Regions from separate parts of the Homo sapiens genome. Here regions 2, 3 and 4 are each linked to region 1. Evidence: promoter capture Hi-C in 16 types of primary human blood cells and fetal thymus (Javierre and others, 2016). All regions are on one chromosome and are shown on one strand. The core of a region is centred on a gene start or on the middle of the fragment in contact, and the rest is flanking DNA. Distances in the headings are between cores, read along the strand shown.

Region 1 (3,084 bases), core at 372-2,871:
AGAATATAATGTGAATAGTGCCCCCTGGAAGTGTAAAGCTGCAGGGCTGAGTGTATTGTCCTGGGCCTTTGGAGCTTCAGGTGAATCCTGTTACATGTAATAGTAATAACAGAGCTAGTTATATTGTCACCATGTGCTATGCACTATTTTAGATGCTTTATGTATTTTATTTGATCCTCATAACTATCATATGAGAAAGGTACTATTGTTCATCCCTATTTCACAGGTAAGTAAACTGAAGCCCAAAGAAGCTTCATGACTTGTTCAAGGTCACACAGCAAGCAAGTGGCAGACCTAGAATCCAAACTCAGAATATGGTTCCCAACTCTGTACTTCTAACCCTATTCTATCTTTTTTATTTTTTATTTTTTTGAGACAGACTCTCCCTCTGTCGCCCAGGCTAGAGTGTAGTGGCACGATCTCAGCTCACTGCAGCTTTCGCCTCCCAGGTTCATGTGATTCTCATGCCTCAGCCTCCGGAGTAGCTGCAACCCTATTCTTTTTTCTTTTTTTTTTTTTTTGAGACGGAGTCTCGCTCGGTCACCCAGGCTGGAGTGCAGTGGCGCGATCTCGGCTCACTGCAACCTTCGCCTCCTGGGTTCAAGCGATTCTCCTGCCTCAGCCTCCCGAGTAGCTGGGACTACAGGCATGCACCACCACACCCGGCTTCTTCTGTGTGTGTGTGTGTGTGTGTGTGTGTGTGTATTTTTTGTAGAGAAGGGGTTTCACCGTGTTAGCTAGGATGGTCTCGACCTCCTGACTTCGTGATCCGCCTGCCTCGGCCTCCCAAAGTGCTGGGATTACAGGCGTGAGCCCCCGCGCCCGGCCGCTGCAACCCTATTCTATCTTGCCTGAGGGTTCCACTTTTCTCCATGACACTCTGGGGCAGGCTACAGATAGCACAGCACGCGCCCTCGCATTGCGCAGATGTGGCTCAGATCCCACGCTGCCATTCGGTAGATATGTGTCTTTAGATAAGTGACTTAACTTTCCCGAATTTTAGAGTCCTCATCTAAAGATTCTAATACCTTCCTGACAGAGTGAGTGTCTGGTTGGGAGGATTCCTCATTTACTTTCCCCATCTCTCTGCAAAGAGAAAGGAGTTAAAATTGCATGGAAGTCAAACCCGAAATTATAAAAGCGACATCAAACATGGGTGAAGGGAGGGAGACCTAAATCATTACTTAGTTTAAAAAAAAAATGTAACAAATACCTACTGGCTGCCAGGCACTCACTGGCATTGGTGCTCAGGGCAATGAATCCAGTCCATCTCTCCGGGTCATTCACACACCAAGGCCCTGCTCACCTTTGGAAAGCTGGGGGACTGAGTGGGGAGGGCACGGTGTGGTGTCAGCCTGAGCCCACTGGATGACCCTAATCACCAAACATCTGCTTCCTTCTCTGTAGCTGTGACCCTGATACCGCGTGGTGTGCTCCGAACACATGGTGCCCAGAACGAAGGCGGCGTCCAGAAGCCCTAGGTCCCAGAGGTCCGCTCAGCGGCAGGCGCATAAGGCGGGGCCGGCGCGGGCCTTTCCTTCCATCGGAACCGTTCTCCCGGGGCTGAGTCCCTGCCCGGACTCCGAACGCCGAAGACCAGGGGCCGGAAGCGCGCGCCGCCACTGCCACGCCGTGTCAGTCGGGAGGGAGGGAGCGAGCAGGCGAAGCCGCGGAGGACGGGGTGAAGATGGCGGCCTTCTCCGGTGCGTTTGTGGAAACTCTGGGGGTGGTGGGGCGGCTTGTTGCACGCCTCAGCCCTGGGGCCGCCCGCGGAGAGCTAAAGGGGCGGGAGCGGACAGGGGTCAGGGAGACAGAAGGGCGCTGTCCGCTGCAGTCCCTGATGGACCCGCGTTGCGGGATCAGGGGCGGCCGCGGCTCGGGTTCGGAGGACGATTCTTCCCAGGAGCGGGCCGGAACGTCCCTCCCCCTGCCCTTTCCCTTCTACCAGTCTCCACTTGGCTTTCCTGCCAGTGCACCTTCGGCTGCAAAATCTAGGCGGCGGCGTTGCTCTGGCGGCTCCCAGACGCCTGGGCCTCCTGCCTCTTAACGTGGCAGTGACCCTTTGGGAACCCTTTTCTGCCCGCGGCTCATCTGGGCTTGGCCAGGCAGAGAGGCGAGACGGCGTGGGGAGGAGTCATTGGGGAAAAATGACGATCCTGCCTCTGTCCAGTTTTTTCAGGCCCTTCCAAAACGTCCCAGGCATAAACCTGATCTTTATTTGTTCTTAAACGTTGTTATATCAACATTAATGTTCAGTGTTGAAGCTAAAGGGAAAGCATTTTCATTAACGTACGCACCAGTCCAACATAAGTTTGGAAAATTCATATTTATTTGCCGTCTGCTACCCTCCTTTATTCCAAATATGATTTGATATGGCTTATCGAACCCTACAGTTGATATTTTCGCCTCTTGCTTTATCATCCTCCTGTTAGGCATCCAGTTTTAGGAAGCTGTAATCAGCCTTAAATGCGCTAAACGTGATACATTTATGTAGCACTTATGTAACGTTTATTGCTATATAAATGTATCACGTTAGGCCTAATGTCCTTTAATGTTATTAACTTTTTAAGATGACTTCAGATGTAGTATTTTATATTTTTTAGTTTTCTTCTGTAAGAATATTAGGAATTCCATATCTCCAGTCATGTAAGATATTTTTTTTCTTTTTTGGGGGGGAGAATGGGGGGGTGGGGGGATGTAGTCTCCTTCTGTCGCCCCAGCTGGAGTGCAATGGTGTGATCTTGGCTCACTGCAGCCTCCACCTCCCAGGTTCAAGCAATTCTCCTGCCTCAGCCTCCTGAGTAGCTGGGATTACAGGCGCCTACCACCATGCCCTGCTCATTTTTGTATTATTAGTAGAGACGGGGGTTTCACCATGTTGGCCAGGCTGGTCTCGAACTCCTGACCTCAGGTGATCCGCTCACCTCGGCTTCCCAAAGTGCAACAGTCATGTAAGATTTCTGACTGTTTCAGTTACATCTTCTAATAGGATTCAATTGGAAACTGCTCAGAGTTGTTGCTGTTTTTCTTTTCCCAACATTCTCCTAAAACGATTTTAGAGCCAAGGTCTGTAGGATAGTTCTA
Region 2 (3,167 bases), core at 594-3,093, 910 kb after region 1:
TCCACAGGTCCGTTTCCCAGAAACCTGACTCATTCAGGACCTTTTGATCCTGAGCTCATCAAAAGAGTCCCCTGAGTGCCCACATTAGCTGTTGAAAGTTCTAGCATTAATGGCTATGTGCACTGTTGCTCGTGCCCTTTTGCAAAGCCTTATGAAATCTAGATTCTTGTTCTCCAACAATTACTCAAGAATGCTGTTTCTTCCGCTGGAAATTTTATTCCTGTTTGTTCTTCCAGGTGAACTCCTGCATATTCTCAGAGTTTATCTCAAATTTCCTTGCTCCCTGAGCTGCAACTACATCTTCCTACTGCCTACAGTTTGTGGCTCTGTCTTCTAGGTTGTACCTTCCATATGGCCTTTGCCATTCTGTATTGTGGCTATGCCTGTTGAGAGTTTAAGCTTGTTGATGCCTGTGTCATGCTTTATTTATACTATTCCCTGGCATCAAATTGGTGTGCAGGGAGTGTTTTCTGGAGACTTCTAGTGATTTGGTTTCCTGGACCTTAGTAAAAGAAACACAGTAATTAGGAAAAGAATGGTTGAAGAAGACATTCAGGAGAGACAGTTATGTGAGTCCTAAGAAAATCACAGTTGGCATTGCAAGATACCGAGGGAGGAGACAAAGGACCTAAAACCAGATACAGATCTGCATTACTGCTCAGGATGCTAATGGGTGTTTAGAATGACATCTCTGAGTGGTTTTGAAATTACGTAGTTATGTATGGCAGATGGGAATTCAGAATTTCTGGAAATGTCAAATACATTTCAGAAAGATGTCTATTAAAAAGAGCTTACTATACTTGTTTGGTGTTTGACAAGCTCAACTTCAGTTATCTGGAAAAGCCCAAGGTGCCAGATGAATGAGACATTACCTCAAATTATAAACTGACAAGATTTGATTAAATGCTATCATACGCCCAGCATTGTGCAACATGTACTGTGACAAATGAAAGGCTGGACTTTCAAGGAAGTGAAGAGGCAAAGCTGGCACAGCAAAAATGGTCAGAGTACAAGTTAGCACCCAATGGACTGGCACAGATCAGTGAGTGACTGTCCATTAGCAGAGGGAGGAGAGATCAAGCTAGGCTAAAAGAGACAGGGGAGGGAGGCTTTCTACAAGAGGTGGTACTTGGGTGAACTCTTGCAGACTGGGAAGATCGAGATTAGTAAAGGTAAGGGAAGAGAAGATTCTCCACCTGCTGGGGGCCACTCAAGCAAAAGCTTTGAGGTGAGACTGGCAAGAGTAAGTGAGATCAGCAGTTCAGCAGAGTAGCAAGTAGGATAACATATTGCATAATATGTTGGATTTGGGGACTATTGACAGTTAGGCAGAAGTACTTGGATCTAGATGTGGAAGTCAAGAGAGAGAAACAAATGAGCTGACAGGTAAGTAGGGCAATTATCTAGTCTAGTTTCCACTAGATGATCAAGTCACAAGTAGCCTGGTTGCATGGAATCCATCAACATCTCTTTGTCCCATCAACCAACCACAACCTGAGACTCAGGCAGCAGTGTGTACAGACTGCATTGCACAGATTAACAGGCTCTGGTCTTCCTCGGTAGGATCTTGCTTTGAATATTTCATCTCAGAAAGGTTCAACTAATTTATTTCACAGACTGAGAAACTATGTGTTAGAGAAGCAAAGTGATATAGCACTAGTGATGGAGCTGAGATAGAACCCAGATCTCAATACCCTGACTCCAAGTCCAGGATTATCATTATCTTGTACATGCCCTTTCTCCTCTGTATTTGCACATAATCTGTTCCATTAAATATTTTATTTATAGCTTGCTTTATACCAGCAGGCTTTAAAGGCAATAATCACATAAGTACAAGAAGAGTAAAGAGTTTCAGGAAGGAAAGATGGAGCATCCAAGGACCATCAAGATTGGAAAGTTGATACTATCTGTAGGCCTGAAAGCCTAAGAAGAGGAGTGGTTACCCCTGCAATCTGAGCACTGTGGTGATAGGAGAGGGCCCAGGCCAAGAGTAGAGGAACTCAGGCATTGTTAAACCTGCAGCCCAGAGGTGGTGGGGGTGGGGGTGGTGGGCGTGAAGCTGCTCATTAATATCCTGACAAACCCAACTGGAACCTGATGGCAAGGGGGTCAAATAGTGGAGTCCATCCAGATCACTACCCAGGGCACAGAGCAGGGACGAGAAGGGTAAAGAGCTGATCTGGAGGAGCAAATGGAGGTGATTCTTGGAAAGGTTCTGTGATGCTCTTGTCCACCACCTCGCCACCCTCACTCCTTGTTCCTGAGACCATCACAGTCTTTTCCTTACCTTTGTCTTCTGCCACTGCATAAGGGTAGACACAGGAGATGAAAGGCGGCCTTCAGAAAACTCATGAAGACTTGCTGACAAAGGGGAAAACCAGTGGGATACAAATTCAGAATGCATTAATTTCTTCTAGGTCCAAGGACACAGAAGCGGAGAAAGAATATACTAGACTTTCTTTTATTTAAGCTTTTACTTTAAGTTCAGGGATATATGTGCAGGTTTGTTATATAGGTAAATTTGTGTCATGGAGGTTTGTTGTACAGATTATTTCATTACCCAGGTATTAAGCCTAGTACCCATTAGTCATTTTCCCTGATCTCTCCCTCCTCCCACCGTCCACCCTCCAATAGGCCCCATTGTGTGTTGTTCCCTTCTATGTGTCCATGCGTTCTCATCATTTTTAACTGTCACTTATAAGCAAGAATAGGTGGTATTTGGTTTTCTGTTCTTGCATTAGTTTTCTAAGGATAATGGCCTCCAGTTCTGTCTATGTCCCTGCAAAGGACATGATCTTGTTCTTTTTCATGCATGCATAGTATTCCATGGTATATATTACCACATTTTCTTTATCCAGTTTGTTATTGATGAGCATTTAGGTTGATTCCATGTCTTAGCTATTGTGGTAGTGCTACAATGAACATATGTGTGCATGTGTCTTTATAATAGAATGATTTATATTCCTTTGGGTATATACCCAATCATGAGGTTGCTGGGTCAAATGATATTTCTGTCTTTAGGTCTTTGAGGAATCACCACATTGTCTTCCACAATGGTTGAACTAATTTACACTCCCAACAACAGTGTATAAGCATTCTTTTTTTCTCCACAACCTCGCCAGCATCAAGAATACACTAGACTTTCTGGATTAGGCCATGATGTGTTA
Region 3 (3,328 bases), core at 94-2,593, 930 kb after region 1:
GGAACACAAATTGGTGTACGATTTTTGGAGGACCATTTGTCAATTTGCATCAGGAACTTTAAAATTGTTCTTACGTTTCAATCAGCTAATTCTGCTAGTTCAATAAGCTAATTCTGTTCTTTGAAATTTATGCTACCAAGAGAATCCAAAACAGCGGGGGAAAATGTTATATTTTTGGATGTTAAAATTGCAATAGTATTTATAATAGCTTACATATTACTGAATACATGTATAATTAAATATTTTAGTTGTCCTAATTCTTGCATAGACAACATGTGTATAGACACTGAAAGAAGACTTTCTAAAGTACTGTTTTTTCACCTTAACTCTCCACTAGAATGCCCTGGATAAATTAAATGAAAAACTCAGGATAAAAGGGGTATCAGTATTTGTTCAAACTGCCCAGGTGATTCTGATGTGCAGCCAAGGTTAGGTGCTATTGTTCTAGAAGGAGTTTTACAGTCATCAAAATGGCTCATTTAAATGGATCTAGCTCATATTCTCCAAAAACGGAAGCAAGAGGACAAGCACTCCAGCTTCTTGATATGGGACTGTCTGGAGCAATGATTGTTAGGCACTGCTACTCCCATGGCTAAGAGACTCAGTGCTTGGACCTACCCATGACATGCTGCTCACCCCAGCCCATCCAAGTTCCCTCATACTGCTCACAGAGATGAGGTATGCTGGCCCTGCTGGGAAGCCCAGATAGTTTTGAAGAGAGGAGGTTCAAACGTGACTCACAGACTGGGTCTCTTTAACTTGCCAAGCAATTCTTCGTATGTCGCTTCCAAACTTGGGGCCTCTATTTTCTTTGTAAGATGAAGATATCTCCTGCCTCACCGGAGTGCTGCACGGTTTGGATCAGAATGTAGATGGAACCACTTGTGCCCTGCACACAATAAATTGCCTCTGCGCACTGGAAGTTGGCTGAGTGAGGAGACAGTGCTTGATGTTGCATCAGAGTGTGGGAAGCCGAGAGGACCACTCTGAGGAGCCCAGGATGTGCAAGCTCATCTGAGTGGTCTTTCTGAGACCAGACCCTTCATCCTACTTAACTGTGAGGACCTGAATCTGGTCATTTCCTCCCAATAGTGTTCCTCCCTCTGGTGGTTTCTGTCCCAATCAGCCAGCCTTCTTTGTCCCTCATTGTCACCTGCATTCCCTACAGGTATTGACTTCTCTGTTAAATTACATTCAGGGGATCAAAATTCCCAGTTTTATTCCCTCTGCTTATGTTTCTGGCACAAAGTGAGAAAAGCATCAGAAAATAAATTCAACCAGTTCTCTTTATATGTCTATATTTTTTTCTGGAAACAGCTCTTCTTGTCCCACATCACAGTTGGAGGCATAATTCACAGTTTCTGTTCCTTCAGCTTCTGGGCCTTCAAAGAGGCAGGGTAAAGCCAAAGTGAGATATCTGGGAGTGTGTCTCTGAGAACCAGCATCTAGATCATTCTGGATCTGGTGCATCTGTTTGTTTGTTCACTTATTGAAAATAAAAGCACATTGTTGGTGTACTGTGTGGTTTCTAGTATAGAGCAGCATTCTTGGATGGGCATTTGTCTGGAGGCAGAGCACAGACAATTGGGAAATAGAAGGCAAAATTCATCCAGAATTCAGCCATTCCTCACTACTCCTGCCATGATCTCCCCAGTCCAAGTTGCCATCATTTCTTACCTGGATGACTGTGGTAGCTTCCTAAGGGCTCTCCCCATTTTCCTTCTTTTCCCCTGCCCCACCTCACAGGCTAGTCTCAAATAAGTCAGCATGTTCTTTTGAAAAGGTAATTTATACTATGTCATTCCTCTGTTCAAAACTCTACAGTGACTTACCATTTCACTCAGGGAACTCAGAGTCCCAATCCAGTAAGGCACTGCTGGCTCTGCCATGGCCCAGACCCCACTCCTAGCTCTCCAGTTTCCTGCTCTCTGCCCATCTTATTCCAGCCACACAGCCTCCTTGTTCCAACACTACAGTTGGAGTACTCCTGCCGCAGGGCTTTGGAGGTACCTCTGCTCTCCCTCCACTTCACTTGTTGCTTGCAGTTCTAACCCAAGGCACTTTATTTTGCAGCCCATTTAAGAATGTTGAGTGAGCTGCAGCCTTAGTACAGGAGACAACAGGGAGGTCTGGAAGTTAGACATGTTAAGAAACACTAGTCTGTTCATTAAGGATTTCCTCGTCTGCTTCTACCTGAAGCCGAACATCTGGATGAAATACGCAAAAGCCAGCTTACATATTTGGGTGTTCTTCACATGGCAGTGTTTGCCAGAAGAATGCAGACCATCTGGTGACTGTTGCAGTTTTCACTTTTTATCCTTGGGTTAAGGTTCAGTTACTTTAAATTCAAGAAACATTTGTTTACACCAACATTTTACTAGAGCCTGTGTTGGTGGCAGGGGATACAGAGATTAATGATTCTCACCGTAGAAGAACTTGAAAGCTAGAGGAATGAGTTGCAAGGTCACAGGTAATTCTACCCAAGGCAAAAAGTGCCAGGTGAAGGCTCTAGATCCAGGGGTTGTCTCACAGAGGGGTTCCCAATAGCCAGTCATAGGCAGCTAGGGAGCTGGAGCTTGAGAAGTTGTAGTCTAGTAAGGCAATGGGACAGAATCTAAAGCTCAGTTGATTAGTCTCCAGGGTGGGGGCAAAAATCTTGGGCTATCCAAAGCTAGGGTGGACAGTAAAAAGAATTTGAGGTCCATGATATTGGGGCAATGCTATACTTATCCTCCAATGAGAATATGTGCATGTAAGTAAAAAAAAAATCAGCTTAACCTATGGGCTAATCAAATATAGGACTTTTACCTCTTCTGAAAATGCTTTCTCTACTGGGTAAACATTTGTTGTCCACTCAAGACACAGCTTAACATCTGCCATTGTCCTAGAGAAGCTTTCTCTGACTGTGAGTACATCGACCACTTTGATCCCTCTGCAGCGACCTCTCAGCAACCTGAGCTCTGCCATAGTTTGCATCACCCCATACTCTGATGGTCTATACGCAGGACCTCACACAGACCAGAAGGAAGGGAACACATGCTCCTTTCCCTCCCTGGCCATTTTAAAGCCCACCATCCTTCATACTCCCATCTGGAGCTTTCTTCTGATGCTCTCTAGGGAGCAAGTTCTGAAGGGACAATTGAGAAAAGGACACAAGGACCCTGGATGGTTGGGGTGTGAGTGAGGGGAGAAAGGGGCATTTCCTGGGGGACAAACAGTGCCAAGCCCTTTGGCTTTCTTTTAACAGGGGACATAAGGGACCCAAGAGAGACGTTTTCAGACATGCCACATTCTTCCACGGATATGTCATGAAGCTGGATTTCAGGAT
Region 4 (2,979 bases), core at 480-2,979, 890 kb after region 1:
ACAAGGGATTTGAAGAGGACAAATATAAAAACTGTTAGGAGTTTAAAGTTCCCAGGAACAAGAGAAATTTGGACCAGAAAGGAAGGCCTTAGATAAAAGATCAGGTAGAAAATTGGGCCAGGTAGGGAGGCCTTAGACAAAAAAGCAACATCTAGCTCTTTTTAGCCCTGCTTCTCCTAGATCTGGACTCCACAAGTTATGTGCATCTGGGCAAGGTGAGACAATAGCTTCACATGGGGCTGGGAAGGTCCTGATACTGGGTCCTTGTCACTGCTTGCATCACAGCTACCTCTTCACCATGAGTATGGGTGTCTCCCTGTCAGACTGAGAATGTCCAATAGGGGAAGTTCAGGGGATCATGCTTGTTTGGACCCACATTTTATCTTCATATATCTCATTTTTCTGCTTCTTTCTCTGCATACTTTAGCTGGGATAGTGTTTGCTTATTCCAATTCTGCTGACTACGTATTTCCAGGCTTTATAATCCACAGTGGGAGAAAGCCTCCCTTAGTAAAGGCCTCCCTTCTCACTCTGCTTACACACTAATTGGTTGAAGACTTTTCTCTTTCCTCTAAGGCCTGACAGAATGCTGCAAGACAGCCAATACTTCTCTGAATTTTTAAACCACCTCCTCTAAGTCTACTGCTTTACAGGTACATGATCATCATTCCAAAGTAAGTATAAGGTTGATACCACTAAAGGTTTTCAGATGCAAAACCGGGCACCTCTAACATCCCAGCCTGACCTAGAGGAGTCTTAGCATTCTTTTTCACCCACTCTAACCATTGAGCCAACTCTCCATTAGAGGGCCTTTTCTTTTAAAAATTCCCACTTCTTGAGGCCTAATTTTATATCAGTTAGGATTCTTTAGGAGGATGACTGTCCTCTCATCCTCCTCCCAGCAGACACACACCACCTTTTAATTTTAATTAGTTTGTAATATCTCCTTTACTACTCTGTGATTGAGCTCATAGATAATTTAACCCATCCATCATATAATTAAAAATATATCATGCCCTAAAAGTAGTATAGTGGAGAAATGAAAGGACAGTAATATATAATAGAAAGACGTGCATGTATTAATATATAAATGTTGTCTCATAATTGCACTAGAACACATGATTGAGTCATCAAGAGTTTCGACTGTGAGATAGAATCACCATGTGGTAATAAAAGCAGACTAATAGAAACATATTTTCTTGGCAACTCAAGCTTCATAAGTGGCATTATCATTGGTAACCTGATCATCTGAAAAGGTGAACAAATCTTGAAAGTGTTTCAAACAAAAGCACAATCTTCCCCTGATTTAAACAGTGGAAAATTCAGTGTGTATCAAAAGGGATACAAAGTAAAAACACTTAATGTATGTGCAAAATGGAGTTAGGCTCTAGGCTCAGATAATAAAGGAGTTTTTCACCTACCTGGAAGTCTAATGGGTCATTAAAAAATTGTGCAATATGAGGGAAGATTCTTTGTAATGCAGACTTATCCCACAAATTCCATCTCGCTTCTTGGTCTCCATATATTAAATGTCAGTAACATCCCCCACCCCCAATTATTTTGACAACAAAAGTATGTGTTTGATTTTTCAAGATGGTACTTATTAAAAAACATCTTCAGGTCAATTCAAACTGACTTAAATTTTGAAGGGGATTTTACATTTTTCTCTCAGTCCTTCCCTGTGCAATAGTTTCAACCTTTACAAGATGGCTGCAACAGTTCTGGGACTCTGATCAAAACCTTGTCCAGAGAGAGAGAAACAGCATCTCTTCTGGTGGCTTTCTAGAGTGAAGAAATTTCTTTTGCAGAAACATCAGGAAGTATGTTTCAGGTCTCACTGGATCAAGATGTAGCCTTACAATTTCTGAGTCCATCAGGGGAATTACTTGAACCAATCACACCCACTCTGGGAACTGAGTAAGGTCAGCTATCTTAAAGCACAGAAGTGGATGGGGAATGGGTGGATATCAAAATAAAAGTCAGGAATGAAGGGAGAAGGAGATTCCAGATAGGCAAGCAAAAATATCCCCTGTATATTTGCAAAGCTGAAGGTTGACTTTATTCAGGGAGATTCCAGGTTTGTTTGTACCATGGAGGACCACCTGGGCCAGAAGTTACACATACATGGTATGTGATGGATTCCTAAAGCGTAGTTAGAGTAGCTGGGAATGGGAGCTAGGGGCCCGGGAAAGGAGGAGGCGGGTGCCGCAAGCGCAAGTCCCGACGAGCTGCCTCATAAAAGGATCAAAGCTTTGTGAGATCCCTCTGCCAAAGCTCTTGCAGCCTGTGACAGGAACCCAGTGAAAGATGGGTGGGAGTGGAAATTGAAAGAGACCCCTTCATAATTTCCTGAGGAAACTCACCTGTTTGGCAATGACTTTGCTCTGCAAGTTTTCCTTTTGCATCCACATGTCTTCATTAACTCTGAACTCACAGGAAAGTGTGATGGTTGTGAAATGGAAAAGCTACTCTTGGCAGACGCAGGTACCTCAAATTCAAAAGGAGAGGTTATGCAGTACTATCTGGCACCCACATGACCATTTTCCTCTCCTTTTCCTCCTGCTCTCAGGTGCATCTCTGGTCCTATCCATCTCATCTATACAGTACCTCACAACCAATCTTATCATTATTCCTGCTGTTGCCTTCACATCTCTCCACACTCCCACTGCAGCATCTGTCTTCAGCCTGTTTCCTCCAATCCCTTCTGCTTGTTATGACACAGACATAAACATCTTATCTTAAAACAAAGCTCACACCCCTCACTTCCTCAAACACTTTCCAGTGAGTATCCATTGACTACAGAATGAAATACTAATCCTAGCCCTTAATGTCTATAGTCCTGCCAAACCCAGTAGAGCTCTACATGCTGGTCAGCAGTTTGACAAACCTTTTGTATTGTGTTTCTGCTCTATACTGGGCATTGGGCAAGGTGTAAGAACTGCTAAACATGATTTTTCACACTCTTCTTTGTAAAAGTTA

What was found. Contacts are between HindIII fragments. The CHiCAGO score rates a contact against its expected background, and 5 or more counts as called.
Region 2: a fragment that was not itself captured here is called in contact with the fragment with the promoter of DDX1 in region 1 in 1 of 17 cell types (M2 macrophages); the score reaches 5.7 in M2 macrophages.
Region 3: a contact is called between a fragment that was not itself captured here and the fragment with the promoter of DDX1 in region 1, in 1 of 17 cell types (M2 macrophages). The highest score is 8.7, in M2 macrophages.
Region 4: a contact is called between a fragment that was not itself captured here and the fragment with the promoter of DDX1 in region 1, in 1 of 17 cell types (M2 macrophages). The highest score is 5.3, in M2 macrophages.

Annotation. Positions count from the first base shown.
Region 1 is chr2:15,590,247-15,593,330 of GRCh38, forward strand. It overlaps DDX1 (DEAD-box helicase 1), which reads left to right and starts at 1,622. Exons shown (of 26, transcript NM_004939.3): 1 at 1,622-1,703. The coding sequence starts at 1,688. It overlaps LOC124905975 (a long non-coding RNA gene), which reads right to left and starts at 1,523. Exons shown (of 2, transcript XR_007086224.1): 1 at 1,214-1,523; 2 at 1-1,086. RefSeq lists an enhancer at 1,661-1,720. The HindIII fragment of the contact is 5,190 bases long and covers 250-3,084 here.
Region 2 is chr2:16,495,940-16,499,106 of GRCh38, forward strand. No RefSeq gene overlaps it. Among named protein-coding and RNA genes, the nearest start is that of CYRIA, 170 kb to the right of the region's middle. RefSeq lists an enhancer at 1-327. The HindIII fragment of the contact is 1,249 bases long and covers 1,220-2,468 here.
Region 3 is chr2:16,516,204-16,519,531 of GRCh38, forward strand. No RefSeq gene overlaps it. Among named protein-coding and RNA genes, the nearest start is that of CYRIA, 150 kb to the right of the region's middle. The HindIII fragment of the contact is 3,095 bases long and covers 1-2,891 here.
Region 4 is chr2:16,475,906-16,478,884 of GRCh38, forward strand. It overlaps LOC105373444 (a long non-coding RNA gene), which reads right to left and starts at 2,444. Exons shown (of 3, transcript XR_939753.3): 1 at 2,364-2,444. The HindIII fragment of the contact is 1,038 bases long and covers 1,211-2,248 here.